Linked DNA regions of Homo sapiens: all the other regions are linked to region 1. The links are contacts of gene promoters, found by promoter capture Hi-C in blood cells and fetal thymus (Javierre and others, 2016). All regions are on one chromosome and are shown on one strand. The core of a region is centred on a gene start or on the middle of the fragment in contact, and the rest is flanking DNA. Distances in the headings are between cores, read along the strand shown. Region 1 overlaps RABL6 (RAB, member RAS oncogene family like 6). Region 2 holds the start of RNF208 (ring finger protein 208). Region 3 holds the start of TMEM203 (transmembrane protein 203). Region 4 holds the start of DPP7 (dipeptidyl peptidase 7).

What was found. The method cuts DNA at HindIII sites, captures the fragments that hold promoters and counts their contacts. A CHiCAGO score of 5 or more calls a contact.
Region 2: the fragment with the promoter of RNF208 here is called in contact with a fragment that was not itself captured in region 1 in 3 of 17 cell types (naive B cells, total B cells and non-activated CD4 T cells); the score reaches 7.4 in naive B cells.
Region 3: the fragment with the promoter of TMEM203 here is called in contact with a fragment that was not itself captured in region 1 in 1 of 17 cell types (M2 macrophages); the score reaches 5.2 in M2 macrophages.
Region 4: a contact is called between the fragment with the promoter of DPP7 here and a fragment that was not itself captured in region 1, in 3 of 17 cell types (non-activated CD4 T cells, total CD8 T cells and naive B cells). The highest score is 5.4, in non-activated CD4 T cells.

What each region holds. Positions count from the first base shown.
Region 1 is chr9:136,812,440-136,815,607 of GRCh38, forward strand. All of the region lies in intron 1 of RABL6 (RAB, member RAS oncogene family like 6), which reads left to right. It also overlaps the pseudogene NCLP1. Among named protein-coding and RNA genes, the nearest start is that of CCDC183-AS1, 5.2 kb to the left of the region's middle. The HindIII fragment of the contact is 2,107 bases long and covers 453-2,559 here.
Region 2 is chr9:137,220,589-137,223,756 of GRCh38, forward strand. RNF208 (ring finger protein 208) reads right to left here and starts at 1,652. Exons shown (of 2, transcript NM_031297.7): 1 at 1,401-1,652; 2 at 1-1,150. The coding sequence starts at 624. RefSeq lists silencers at 1,205-1,254, 2,195-2,244, 2,555-2,904. The HindIII fragment of the contact is 9,789 bases long and covers 1-3,168 here.
Region 3 is chr9:137,204,143-137,207,310 of GRCh38, forward strand. TMEM203 (transmembrane protein 203) reads right to left here and starts at 1,506. Exons shown (of 1, transcript NM_053045.2): 1 at 1-1,506. The coding sequence starts at 1,272. The coding sequence ends at 862. It overlaps NDOR1 (NADPH dependent diflavin oxidoreductase 1), which reads left to right and starts at 1,558. Exons shown (of 14, transcript NM_014434.4): 1 at 1,558-1,770; 2 at 2,090-2,167. The coding sequence starts at 1,636. RefSeq lists a silencer at 1,262-1,521. The HindIII fragment of the contact is 6,239 bases long and covers 50-3,168 here.
Region 4 is chr9:137,113,299-137,116,466 of GRCh38, forward strand. DPP7 (dipeptidyl peptidase 7) reads right to left here and starts at 1,435. Exons shown (of 13, transcript NM_013379.3): 1 at 1,349-1,435; 2 at 1,165-1,278; 3 at 945-1,084; 4 at 567-730; 5 at 63-198. The coding sequence starts at 1,415. LOC124902314 (a long non-coding RNA gene) reads left to right here and starts at 1,501. Exons shown (of 2, transcript XR_007061874.1): 1 at 1,501-3,168. RefSeq lists silencers at 1,131-1,280, 1,311-1,660. The HindIII fragment of the contact is 32,578 bases long and covers 1-3,168 here.

The sequences.
Region 1 (3,168 bases), core at 256-2,755:
TCCCAGCTACTCGGGAGGCTGAGGCAGGAGAATCGCTTGAACCCGGGAGGCAGAGGTTGCCGTGAGCCAAGATCACACCACTGCGCTCCAGCCTGGGCGACAGAGTGAGACTTCGTCTTAAAAAAAAAAGAAAAGAAAGAAAAGTTTATATGAATATCCAGTCAAAACAAACAAGGAAGGTATTACCCTTGAAATGTTGTCTATACGAATTTCCAAGGAGACCACAGGACTGTAGACTGTCTTGGAATGTCCTCAGAGAGCTCTGTCATTGATCAGGTAACGGAATAAAAACCCCAGCGTCCTTTCTTTCAAATGGGAGAGGGAAAGACAAAGGGACAGAAGCCGTTCAAACTTTGTCTTCTTTCCTTGTGGCTTGTGGTCACCTCTGCCTCCCCAGAAGCTGCCTCGCCCACCAAAGCCTTCCTGGCTTCTGCCACCACCTCATCCTCCAAAGCTTCCTCTACCTCCATCACAACCCCAAAGCCACCTTCGCCCTTAGGTTTGGCCCAGTCCAAGTTACCTTTGTTTCCCTCAATTTCACCATCTTCCGCGGCCTCCTTGGCGCTTTTGGCATCCTCCTCACTGTTGCCATCTACAGAGCCAAAGCCTTTGGGGCACCCGGTTTCCTGGTTGGTGACTACCCTTGCCCAACAAAGCTGTCGAATGACTAAAGCCTCTTCAGTGGTGTCCTCAGACAGGCCTTTGACAGACAGTTTTAGATGGCTGGCTCCTGGCATCAGGTGGTCCTTGCAACTCCAGCCTGATTGCCCTGCCCCCAGTTTCCCTTTTATTACAGGAATTTAAAGCTGCTTTATCATCTTCAAATGAAGCGAACTGTAAGTGCATGCACACCCTTTAGATTTGCCATTTTGGTTCTGGGGCACTTTGATAAAAGTTGCCTTGTCTCAGATTCTTTCTGAAGAGTTTCTTCTGTTGCACTGTAGGAGAGGTTGCTTAAACCAGAGTTTTTGATTCACCCCTCCAAGTGGTCTCTCTAGTCTTGATTTAGACCTTTCTCTCCATGATAGTGCAGGGAAATAGATCGGCCATCCATCTCTGTTCCCTGCGTTTCTTCAGAAGTTTTCTCTGCATTAGCTTCTGTCTTAACCTCAATATAAGCAGTCCCTTTACTCTTCCCATCCTTGCTGACTAATCCAATCTCCACAGCATCTTCAAACACTTTTTTGTTTTTTGAGCCAGAGTCTCGCTCTGTTGCCCAGGCTGGAGTGCAGTGGCCGTGATCTCAGCTCACTGCAAGCTCCACCTCCCAAGTTTGCGCCATTTTCCTGCCTCAGCCTCCCGAGTAGCTGGGACTACAGGCACCCGTCACCACACCCAGCTAATTTTTTGTATTTTTAGTAGAGACAGGGTTTCACCGTGTTAGCCAGGATGGTCTTGATCTCCTGACCTCGTGATCTGCCTGCCTTGGCCTCCCAAAGTGCTGGGATTACAGGTGTGAGCCACTGCGCCACTGCGCCCAGCCAAAACACTTGTAATTCATCCTGAGTGACTTTGTAAGGGAGATTTGTAGCCAAAAGTATTCTCACATCTTGCTCTTTCTTACTGTCTTTTCCTTTTGGTTTCTCTAGTTTAATTTCATTGCCAAAGTCTTTCAAACCAGCGAGTTCCAAGGCTCTTTCCAGGTCTTCAGCAGCTTGAAAATCCACATAGTCAGATTTCCTTGTCATACCCATTCTGACATCCACAACAGCAAGATCATTTTTAGCAAAAATATCATGGATACTAGTTTTTGTTTTTCTTTCTTTTTCGAGACAGGGTCTTGCTCTGTTACCCAGGCTGGAGTGCAATGGTGCTCACTGCAGCTTCCACCTCCCGGGTTCAAGTGATTCTCCTGCCTCAGCCTCCCCAGTAGCTGGGACTACAGGCACGCACCACTACGCCCGGCTAATTTTTGTATTTTTAGTAGAGACAGGGTTTCATTATGTTGGCCAGGCTGGTCTCAAACTCCTGACCTTGTGATCTGTCCACCTCAGCCTCCCAAAGTGCTGGGATTACAGGCGTGAGCCACCAGGCCTGGCCCATGGATACTAGTTTTTAACTCAGGAGCAGACTTGTTAAAGTTCAGGTTTCCAACAAAGATTGAAAGACGTTCCAGCCTGGCCAACATGGTGAAACCCCGTCTCTACTAAAAATACAAAAATTAGCCGGGTGGTAGTGGTACACGCCTGTAATCCCAGCTACTCAGGAGGCTGAAGCAGGAGAATCACTTGAGCCTGGCAGGTGAAGGTTGCAGTGAGCCAAGATTGCGCCACTGCAGTCCAACCTGGGCGAGAGAGTGAGACCCTGTCTTAAAAAAAAAAAAAAGGCACAGTTGGTTCTGTGCTTCTCACTCTCCACTTTGTGTTTCTTGGCTTCAGAAGCTGCTGTTTGGTCATTTCCTTCATTTTCCAGGTGCTTCTTTGACAGACCCTTCCTCCTCTTTGTCGTCTTCATCACTTCATCCTCTTCATCATCGTCACCCTCGTCCTTGTCCTCATCATCCTCTTCATCTTCATTCCCAGCCATCCTCTTGGCTTTCCCAGGAACAGCATTTGTAGAAGCTTTCTTTCCTTTGGCTGGTGTTGTTTCCATAGGTGCTGCTTCAGAGCCATCTTCCTCAGCATCGTCCTCATCGTCCTCGTCCTCATCCCCTGAGGCAGGGGCACCCGCTGCTGCCTTCATCACTGCTGGTTCAGAGTCATCCTCCTCCTCATCGCTGTCTTCCTTCTTGGCGTTCTTGCCGTTCTTTGCCCCCTTGGCTGGGGTGTCCCTTCTTGCCAGGAGCTGCTGCCAGTGCTTTGCCTGCTATGGCTCCCTTCTTGGCAGGTGTGGCGACTGCTTTGCCTGGAGTGACAGTTGCTTTCTTGGTGGGTGTGGCACCTGCAGCCTTTTTTGTTCGGGAAACTGTCACCTTCTTGGCTGGGGTTGCAGCAGCCTTCTTGCCTTTCTCCTGAGGTGTGACAGTCTCTTCTCCACAGCTGTCATCTTCTTCATCTTCTGACATTTCCTCATCTTCACTTCCTCCTTCTGCCTCCTTTGGGGGAGCAGCCATTTTCTTGGGGTCACCTTGGTTTTTACCTGCCTCGACACCAAGTAGTCTGAAGCTGCTGAGGATGGGAAATCTTTGCAGGGTGCAGAGTGGGAGAGGAGCAAGGTGTGGCTGACACC
Region 2 (3,168 bases), core at 402-2,901, 410 kb after region 1:
CGTGTTGACAGCCAGCGCGGCCAGGCCGTAGTCGGTGAAGAGCACAGTCTCACGGCGGCAGGTGGGGCAGGAGATGAACTTGTACTTGGGGCAGGACTCGTAGAGAATCTGCAGGCACTGCTCACACACAGAGTGCAGGCAGGACAGCACGCGGGGCCTCCGCTGGGTGACATTGTAGGAGTGCCCACAGGTGGGGCACTCCAGGGGCTCGCCTGCCGCCGCCGAAGAAGCCGCCGAGGCCGAGGGGCCAGGCCGAATCACGTACTGATTCACAATGACCTCATCCTCTGGGGCCACGCGGGGAAAGCCCAGCTCCGAGCTTCCCTTACGGGGCCGCCGTGGCAGTGGCGGGGTATGGGGTGCCCCTTCCAAGGCAGGCATGTCCCCCCCACAGGCCTGGTTGACAATGATCTCTGTGTCTGAGGGCCAGGCACGCTTGGGTGCCAGAGTTGGGGTGGGCCGGGGAGCAGGCGGGAAGCAGGGGGCAGCCGGTAGCTCAGGGAACTTTTCAGGGTGGACAATCTTCATGGCCTCCATCTTGAGGATGACATGGGGACCCTTCAGGCAGGACATGAGGAGGCCCGGCCAGCCACTGCCCGCCTCGGGCCCGGGGTCAGAGGGCATCCGGCTGTCTCCAGTCAGACTGGATGTTCGGGTGGGTGGGGGCGTTGTGTGGGGCTGGGGGGCAGGTGACAGGGCAGCATCCTGGTCCCGCCAGGCCTGGGGGGGGCCCCGGACGGCCCGTGGACTCCTAGGGACAGCCGGCGAGAGTTGGGGGTGCAGGGCCCCCCCCAGTGGCCACAGTGGCTTCTCTGGTCCAGTCCTGGGAGGAGGAGGAAGGGGTGGGGGAGGGGGAGGCAGGCGGGGGCAGGGAGGGGTGGGAGGCTGCCCTGGGCTGGGGGTCTGGCCCAGGGTCTCACCCAGGGTCTCTGGCTGCTGAGGCTGGCGAGGGGGCGCGGGGGGGGCTCCCCCTGCAGCCGAGGTCAGCAGGCCGCGGGCCGGGACATCGGGGCAGGCAGGGGCTGGGTGGGCCCCATGGCTCCAGGACAGGGCGCCCAGGGAAGGCAGCTAGCCGAAGCGCTGGCTGCAGGAGGACCGGGGCGGCAGGCTCCGCGGCAGGAGCAGAGGCGAGGCCTGGGCCAGGCCTGAGCTGCAGGTGAGAGACGGCATGAGGGCAGTGCCCCGGCCACCCCCACCCTAGCCCTCGCCCTGCACAAAGGACCGGGCGCCCGACCTCTGACCCTGACCTCAGCCGTGGGATCCCGACCTCCGCGGGCCTCAGAACCCAACCCCCTCCCCGGTCCCCGCCTCCAAGGCCAGACGCACCTTCCCGAGGGCCGACCCCCGTCGCGTGGGGAGGGGCGCTGAGTCCGCCCCCGGCCCCCGCCCCCTGCGCTCACCTGCCCCAGCCTGGCGTCCCGGCCGCGCGCCGCCGCCGCAGAGGTTGTCTCAAAGGCAGGCCCGGACGCGGCGCCCGCGCCTCGGCCCGGCAGCTCGGGGGGCTCCGGCGGCTCCGGCGGCGGCCGCAGCGACCTCAGGCGATGGCGGGGCCCGGGCGGCACCGAGGGGCGCGGGCGCGGGCGTGGGGCGCGGGGCGCGGGTTTCGGCACGGCGGCGACGGCGGCAGGTGCGTGCGGAGCGTGGCGCGCTCTGCGGCGGAGGCGCGGGGACCGCAGTGCGCGCGGCGCCCGCCCGCGCCCGCAGCGCCACCCCCCGTCTGGGGACCCGCGCGGGGTCCGCGGGGCGGGGCCAGCCTCCCGGCCGCCCCTCGGTCCGCTCCCGGCGTCGCTCTCGCCCGCGGACTGCGTGGGGGGCAGGACCCCCGCGTCGCCCCCAGTTCTCTCCAGGCTGATCCTGGGTCCTGGTCAAGCCCCCGCCCCCCCAGATTCAGGAGGAGAATCCGGCTGTTCTCCTCCCTCACAGTAGGAGGCCTCAGGACTCTGGAGTGAGAGGGAGGGGACCTGCGCGGAGGATCCCAGGGGAGCTGGTTCCAGGGCCCACCGGTGCCTTCCCCCGTCCCCGGCCCCCCGCCCCATGGGAAGGCCCCGAGTCCTCCAGCTCCGCCTGTGCCCGGTGCCGTAGCTCAGATAGATCGCTGTGACTCTAAGGGGCAAGAGCGGGGCGGGCGGAGCGGATCAGAAGGCCGAGGCCGGTGGACGGACGGGTCCGGTGGGAGTGCGCGAAGGACAGGCTGGCAGCCCAGTGCGGGGTGGAGGCGGCCCTGAGGACCGCACCTGCCCGGACAGGGTGGCCCCTGGCACTCCAGCGCGCAGGCCCGGGCCTCTCCGCTTCCTCACCCGGGGCTTCCCTGCCCTCCTGGGTCCGCCTTCTGCCTGTGGAGCCCTCGGGCTTGCTGGTCACCGTGAGGCAGGGGACCAGGGCTTCGAGGGCCTCCGCTGCCACGCTGTGACCAGCTCTGGCCCCGCACCTGGCCCTGGACATCCTGGCCTCCTTCAGCTCCTCTCTCCGCTGGACTGGCCAGACCGCACCTGCTCTAGGCAGAGCCCCAGGGCCTGCAGAGTGCTGAGCCCAGAGGGGACGGTGCCGCTGGTGCGGGAGCTCGCGTGGGCAAAACAGGCTGGAGGAGCAGCCCTGCGCATAGGGTCTGGCTTGGCCCCTCTGTGGGGCCTCGGGCGAGTGTCACTCAGAAGAGCAATAGGGAGAGGTGTGCGGGTGACAGGGGCGCTGCTGGAGGGGTCCTTACGGGGCCCTGGCAAGATGGTGGGGCAACTGAGGCAGCCTGGGCCTGGGGAGGGCCGGGAGCCCAGCTCCGCCGCAGACTCTGCTCACCGACCCGGCGTGCGCCCGAGGAAGCACCAGGCCGCAGGCCCCGCCCCCTCAGCGAGACCCCACCCCGTAGGGGATGAGATCCCGCCCCCGCCACGAGGCCCCGCCCCCCAGGCCAGGCCTTTTCAGACCCGCCATTCAGAGCTGGAGAACCCCAAGCCGAGTATTGGTCACATCCGAACCGGGTCTTTCGGGAAACCCCGGAGCGCGTGGGCTTCTGGGCAATAATATTTCCACGGCCGGTTCCTGCCTTGTTTGCGCATGCGCCATAGGCGCCACTCAAGTGGCAGGCAGGGAGGTGGGCGGGACTTCCGGCGCCTGCGCAGTGGACTTCCGTCGCCGGCCTCTCAAGTTTTGGGTCCCCAGGAGCACCCAGTTCTC
Region 3 (3,168 bases), core at 256-2,755, 390 kb after region 1:
ACTGGCATCAAACCAAAGTTCGTAGGCCAACAAAGATGGGCCACTCACAAGCTTCCCATTTGTAGATCTCAGTGCCTATGAGTATCTGACACCTGTTCCTCTCTTCAGTCTCTTAGGGAGGCTTAAATCTGTCTCAGGTGTGCTAAGAGTGCCAGCCCAAGGTGGTCAAAAGTCCACAAAACTGCAGTCTTTGCTGGGATAGTAAGCCAAGCAGTGCCTGGACAGCAGAGTTCTTTTCTTGGGCAACAGATAACCAGACAGGACTCTAATCGTGCTCTTATTCAACATTCTTCTGTCTCTGCCTAGACTGGAATAAAAAGCCAATCTCTCTCGTGGCACAGGGAAGGAGATACAAGCTCGTTTACATGTGATAGATCTAACAAAGGCATCTACCGAAGTCTGGTCTGGATAGACGGCACAGGGAGCTCTTAGGTCAGCGCTGCTGGTTGGAGGACATTCCTGAGTCCAGCTTTGCAGCCTTTGTGCAACAGTACTTTCCCAGGATCCACAGGAAATACTCAGAGTCCACCTGGACATTTTACTTATATTCAGTTTCCAAGTGTCAGAGGGGTTCAGGACTGTCTGGCCTGGGGGGCCTCCTCATGACCTCAATTCAGGATTATCTACTCAAAGCATTAAACAAAAGGAAATACATTTTCAGGATGAAGGCTGCTCTTTTAAGCCCTGCTGAAGAAACCATTTCAAACAGGATTGGAATAGGGAAACCCGGCACTCAGCTCGGCGCAAGCCGGCGGTGCCTTCAGACTAGAGAGCCTCTCCTCCGGTGCGCTGCAAGTAGGGCCTCGGCTCGAGGTCAACATTCTAGTTGTCCAGCGCTCCCTCTCCGGCACCTCGGTGAGGCTAGTTGACCCGACAGGCGCGGATCATGAGCAGCTGCAGGAGAATGAAGAGCGGGGACGTAATGAGGCCGAACCAGAGCTCCCGAGTCTGCTCCGCCAGCTTCTGGCACAACAGCATCTCGAAGACGAACTTGAGACTCAGGACCGTAAGTACCCAGAAAAGGCGGAGCACCGCCAGCCGCTTCTCTCCATCCTGGAAGAGGCGCACGGACACGATGGTGGTGAAGTAGGTGCTGAGCCCGTCAGCGGCGAAGAAAGGCACGAACACGTTCCACCAGGAGAGGCCCGGGACCAGGCCATCCACACGCAGTGCCAGCAGCACAGAGAACACCAACAGGGCCAGCAGGTGCACGAAGATCTCGAAGGTGGCGAAGCCTAGCCACTGCACCAGCTCCCGGAGCGAGAAGAGCATCGCGCCCGTTGAGCGCGGGCCGGGGCCCGGCCGAGCGTGCCACCCGCGGGGCTGCGTCTCCTCTCCCCGTGGCCCTCGCCCGCGCCTGCCGCCGCTGCTGCGAGCGAGAGGCAGCGAGCGGCCCCGCCAGCCCCAGCCCTCGGCCCTGATGCGCCGGCAATCCCCCGGCCCCGACCCGGGACTCAACCCTGGCCGCCCGTGAACGCCCGCCTCGATCGGACGCCATGCCCCCACAGGGCGCGTCCCTAGTGCGTCACTTCCGGTCGACGGCGGAAGGCGGAAGGCGGAGCGGTCCCTGCAACCCGGCCGGCGGGAACTGCCTTCTAGTTTTTAGTCTCAGACCAGACCACCGGGCGCACCCCGATGCCGAGCCCGCAGCTTCTGGTGCTCTTCGGCAGCCAGACAGGCACGGCTCAGGATGTGTCGGAGAGACTGGGTCGCGAGGCCCGGCGCCGGCGGCTTGGCTGCCGGGTGCAGGCCCTGGACTCCTACCCGGTGGTGAGGGCTCGCTAGGGCCTCGGCGTGGGGGACGAGCAGGCCTGGCGTGCCCGCCTCGCGGGGTCATCGACCCAAAAGGCGTCGCATTTTCTCTGAGAGCGGGTCTTTCCCTTATGGCGGATTTAGGGAAGGAGGTTTGGGAAGGGGAGTTCAGTTTAGCACCTGGAGGAGGTTGGAACCTGAAAGAGAAGACGGTCTGGCTGCTCACATAAATCCCTCTGCCCTGTCAGCCTGAGTAAAGGAGAAGGGGGTCAAGTTTTGGGAAGGACGCCCGGTCCTTACAGCCGGAGGTCTTACGTGTGTGTGTCTTTTTGTTGAGGTGAATCTGATTAACGAGCCCCTGGTGATATTTGTTTGTGCAACTACAGGCCAAGGAGACCCCCCTGACAACATGAAGGTAAGGCTGGCCTGATGTGGCTCCTCAGATCCCTGCCCTCGACCCTCACCCCGTTTTCATTGCCTGGCGTCTAGGTGCAGTAAATAGCTCTCCTTTATCTCATGCACCTTCAGAGGTGGATTTGAGAGAACGTCCGTGAGTGGGGCTGGGGGCTCCGGTTGCCCTCTCTAATAAACTCGTCGTAGCCACCAAATAGCCTTATTATCCGTTTTAACCTTTCTTATTTTTCCAGGGCTATCTATATGTGCATCTAGTCTGGGTCTTGTGTGTATTTCTAGACTGTATGACCCTCAGGGAACGTTGCTGAATTCTCTGACCATCTTTTAAGCACATATTCTATTCTTGGCACAGTCTGGTGCTGGGGATCCAGCTGTGAACCCAGCAGCCATATTTCCATCCTGGCAGAGTTCACACTGTAGCAGAAGCAGCTAACGGGCAATGACAGTGCCAGCAAACACCTGCTGCTGGGGAAAGTAGCATATGTCACAGGAGCACTGATAAGGGGCATCGAGCCTTATCTCACCCAACCTTGGGGCCCAGGCAGAGGTTTCTGGAAGAAAAGAGTGTAAGCTGAGTCACGGAAGGATGCGTGAGGGCTAGTCAGGCACCGAGGAAGAAGGAGCAGTCAGCGCAGAGGAAAAAGATGATTTGGTTTGTGTGAAAAGTGGAAAGCAGCTCAGGGTGGCCAAGCTGAGGAGTACACTGGGGCAAGAGGGGAGGAGAAGAGAGGCAGGAAGCCAGGCCCAGTCCAAAGAGCCTGAGTAACCACAGCAAGGCAGATGGGCTTGAAATGAAGGGTTGTCGGAACTGTAGGGGTGACACAGTCATGTTCCTAAGCTAGCAAAACCGCACTGGTCTGCAGGACAGCAGGAATAATGCCATGAGATGCACAGGACAGGCAGCAGATGCTACCGATCTGAGCTGAAGTGGTGGCAGAAGATAGAAGTGGACACATTGCAGTGGTGTCAGGAAGAGAGAGTCCCCGGGACATGGAACGGACC
Region 4 (3,168 bases), core at 185-2,684, 300 kb after region 1:
AGACCGTGCTGACTGCAGCTGCTGTCCCTTAGGGGGCCTGGAGGACCCCAAGCCTCACTCACCGCCGTGACGTCCCGGAAGAACTGGTTGGAGTCGCCGAGGCCTGCCACAGCTAGAACGGGCGCGCTGGCCGCCAGCGCCCCCGCCACCAGGTGGGGATACTTCATCCTCAGGTAGGCACTGAGCATCCCCCCATAACTGGGTGAGGGACACAGGGTTAGGGCTGCTGCCCCCAACACCCCATTTCCTCTTTTCCTCCTCAGGGGCCCACAGGTGCCACAAGGAGGACGACACTTCTGAGACCCACAAATTCCAACCCTGGGCCAGGTGCGGGTGCAGCTCTCACTGGGAAAGGCCGCTAGTGTGGCCGCACATCCAAGCTGAGCAGGTGGCTGGGAGGACAGGTGGGAGGGCTTCCTGGGGGAGGCAACACTAAGCCTGGAACCACTGCCTGAGGCCTTACGAAAAGGCAGCGGTGGGAGTCAGAGGGGAGTGGGGAGAAGGGCTGGGGGCGCTGGGTCGGGGCAGGGGAGGGAGGGGGTGCGGAGGCCGGGGGAGGCGCCCACCTTCCACCGAAGGCGATGGCGGGGGCATCCTGGGCCCCGAGGTCGCGTCGTAGCGCGCGGAGCAGCTCTGCGAAGTCGGCCAGGGCCTGCTCCACCGTCAGCAGCTCCGTGTGCCCGCGCTGCGTGGACTGCGCACCGAACGGCAGCGACTTCCCGTAGTAGCGCTGGGGGAACGTGCCATTGAGCCCGGCCCCGCGACCCCGCCCGGCACCCGCGTGCCCCGCGACCCCCGCCCGCGACCCCGCCCGGCACCCGCGTGCCCCGCGACCCCCGCCCGCGACCCCGCCCGGCACCCGCGTGCCCCGCGACCCCCGCCCGCGACCCCGCCCGGCACCCACGTGCCCCGCGACCCCGCCCGCGACCCCGCCCGGCACCCACGTGCTCCGCGAAGACCAGTAGAGCCCCCCGCTCGGCCGCCAGCTCCGCGACGAAGGCCGAGTTGTTGGCGAAGGCCCACACGTCGCCCTCGTTCCCAGTGTAGAAGAAGATGGGCCCCTCGCCCCGGACCCAGAACCTGTCTGTGGGGAGGGCGGATGAGGCGAGGGTGCCGGGGGGCGGCGGGACGGCGGGGGCGGCCGGGCCGGGGCCGGGGTCTCACCCGACACCAGGAAGCGCTGAGGGAAGGTCTTGTTGCCGAAGCGCTCGAAGTTGAAGTGGTCCAGACGCTGCTGGAAGAAGCGCTCCTGGAAGCCGGGGTCCGGGGCCCTGCGGGCTGTGGGGGGACGCGAACCTCAGAGGCGGGGCCGGGACCGGGGAATGGGCCGGGGGGCGCCGCCACTCACCCCCCGCCTGGAGGCCGCGCAGCCCGAGCGCCAGCAGCAGGACCGGGGCCCAGGGAGCGGAGCCCATGTCGCCTTCCGCGGGCGCCCGTCACGTGGGCGGGGTCACGGGGCCGCCAGGGCGCGCTCCTCCCTCCAGGCCCCACGTGTTTCGGGCGCCCGCGGTCCCCACGGAGACCGTCGCTGCTTCAGCGCCGCGCCGGGGCTGTGCCCCCCAACACCCCGCGCCCCGCGGCCGCTGCCCAGGGGTCCTTCCCGGGCACGGCGCGGGGAAGCAGAGGGCCCCCGGGCCATCTCCGCGGCCTCCCGCCCCACTGGCTCGTCCTCCTACCGCGGCCCCATCCGGAGCTGCGCTAGGGCGAGTCCCTGCTGCGCCCGCCAAGCCTCCCCAGCACTTGCTCCTGGCAGGTGCCCCACTCCAAGGCAGGGCCGGGAGAGTGGGGGCCGTTCTGCTGCCCTAAGGGCGGGAGGGAGAGGGTCCCAAACAGAGTGCTGGCCCCCCGAAGAAAGCAACCCAGGGTTTGTCCAAGCGATAACGGGCTGGGCTTGGCGGGGCGGGGCCTCGCAGCGGGCAGGAGTGTGGGGTGCCCCTGGAGCGTCTGGGCAGGGCCGGGATGTGGCCGGGTAGCTCCCAAGAGCTGGGAATCGCCACCTGCCCTTCCGACTGGCACCCAGTGTGCCCACACAGCCCTGCAGGGACAAGGGGGGACCAGAGGCCTCTGCTGGGAGCTGGGGCCTCCTCCCTGGGGAGCACCCAGAGGATGGAAGAAGTCACCTTTCCCCAGCGTCCAGTTCAGGGAGTGGGTGAGGGGGCCGTAGTGGTGGGTGCCAGACTAGCTACGTGGAGTCCTGCTGGGGATGTACATGGGCCGCTAGCCAGGCCCAGAACAGGTGCAGGGGCAGCAGGGGCTCAGCTACAGAGAGTTACCCTGTCCTTCTCCCAAGACTACCCTCGGCCAGCATGACCCTGCCCTGCCCATCCTGTGTGGGGCTGAGCGGAGAAGACCGGCCACTTCCACAGCCCCTCACGCCATGGCCCTCCCGTGCCTCACACAGAGGCACCCCCCATGGTGGGTGACTGGTGGCTGGGGCCCTCAGCATGGTGGCAGTGACCATCACGTCACACTGCAACACGAGGTCATCCAGGGCCACACACCGTCCCCACCACGGCCCTCACATCTGGGCCCTGTCCCATCCCTACGCAGTTCCTGGGGCTGCCTGCCGGGGCCCCCGCAGGACGGGGGTGAGGACAAACAGCAGACCTCCTTGGATGTGGAGGTACCCCACGGCGTCCCCCACCCCACACCTCTGCTCCTTTGGCTCCCTCGGGTGCCTTAGGTGGCCAGAACTCCACCAGCAACCCTCACCCAGGACCGCAGCTCTGGAGACGCCAGCTAGGCCGAGAGCTGGCCAGCTCCCCAAGCACACCAGAGCCTGGAGACGCTCCAGGCTTGGCTGGGCCCACAGAGGGGCCAGAGCCTCAGGGAGGGCTCCAGGAGCAGGGTTTCCAAGGAAGCCACTTTCCCTCTTGTCCACGGCCCAGGCATTGATGCCCCTCTGGGCAGCAGCCAGGGCCTCCCAAGCCGGGAAGGGTGGGCATGGGGCTACCCAGCATGGCTCTGCCAGGGGTGAGGGTGGCCACAGTCCCCTGCCCACATCCCTGTGCCCACAGAAACATATGCTGTATGGAATCAAGGTTTAAGGCATCTAGGCCTGTGCTGGTAACCTGTAACCTTAGCCCCATCCCTGTGCCCACAGAAACATGTGCTGTATTGACTCAAGGTTTAGGGGATTTAGGGCTGTGCAGGATGTGCTTTGTTAAC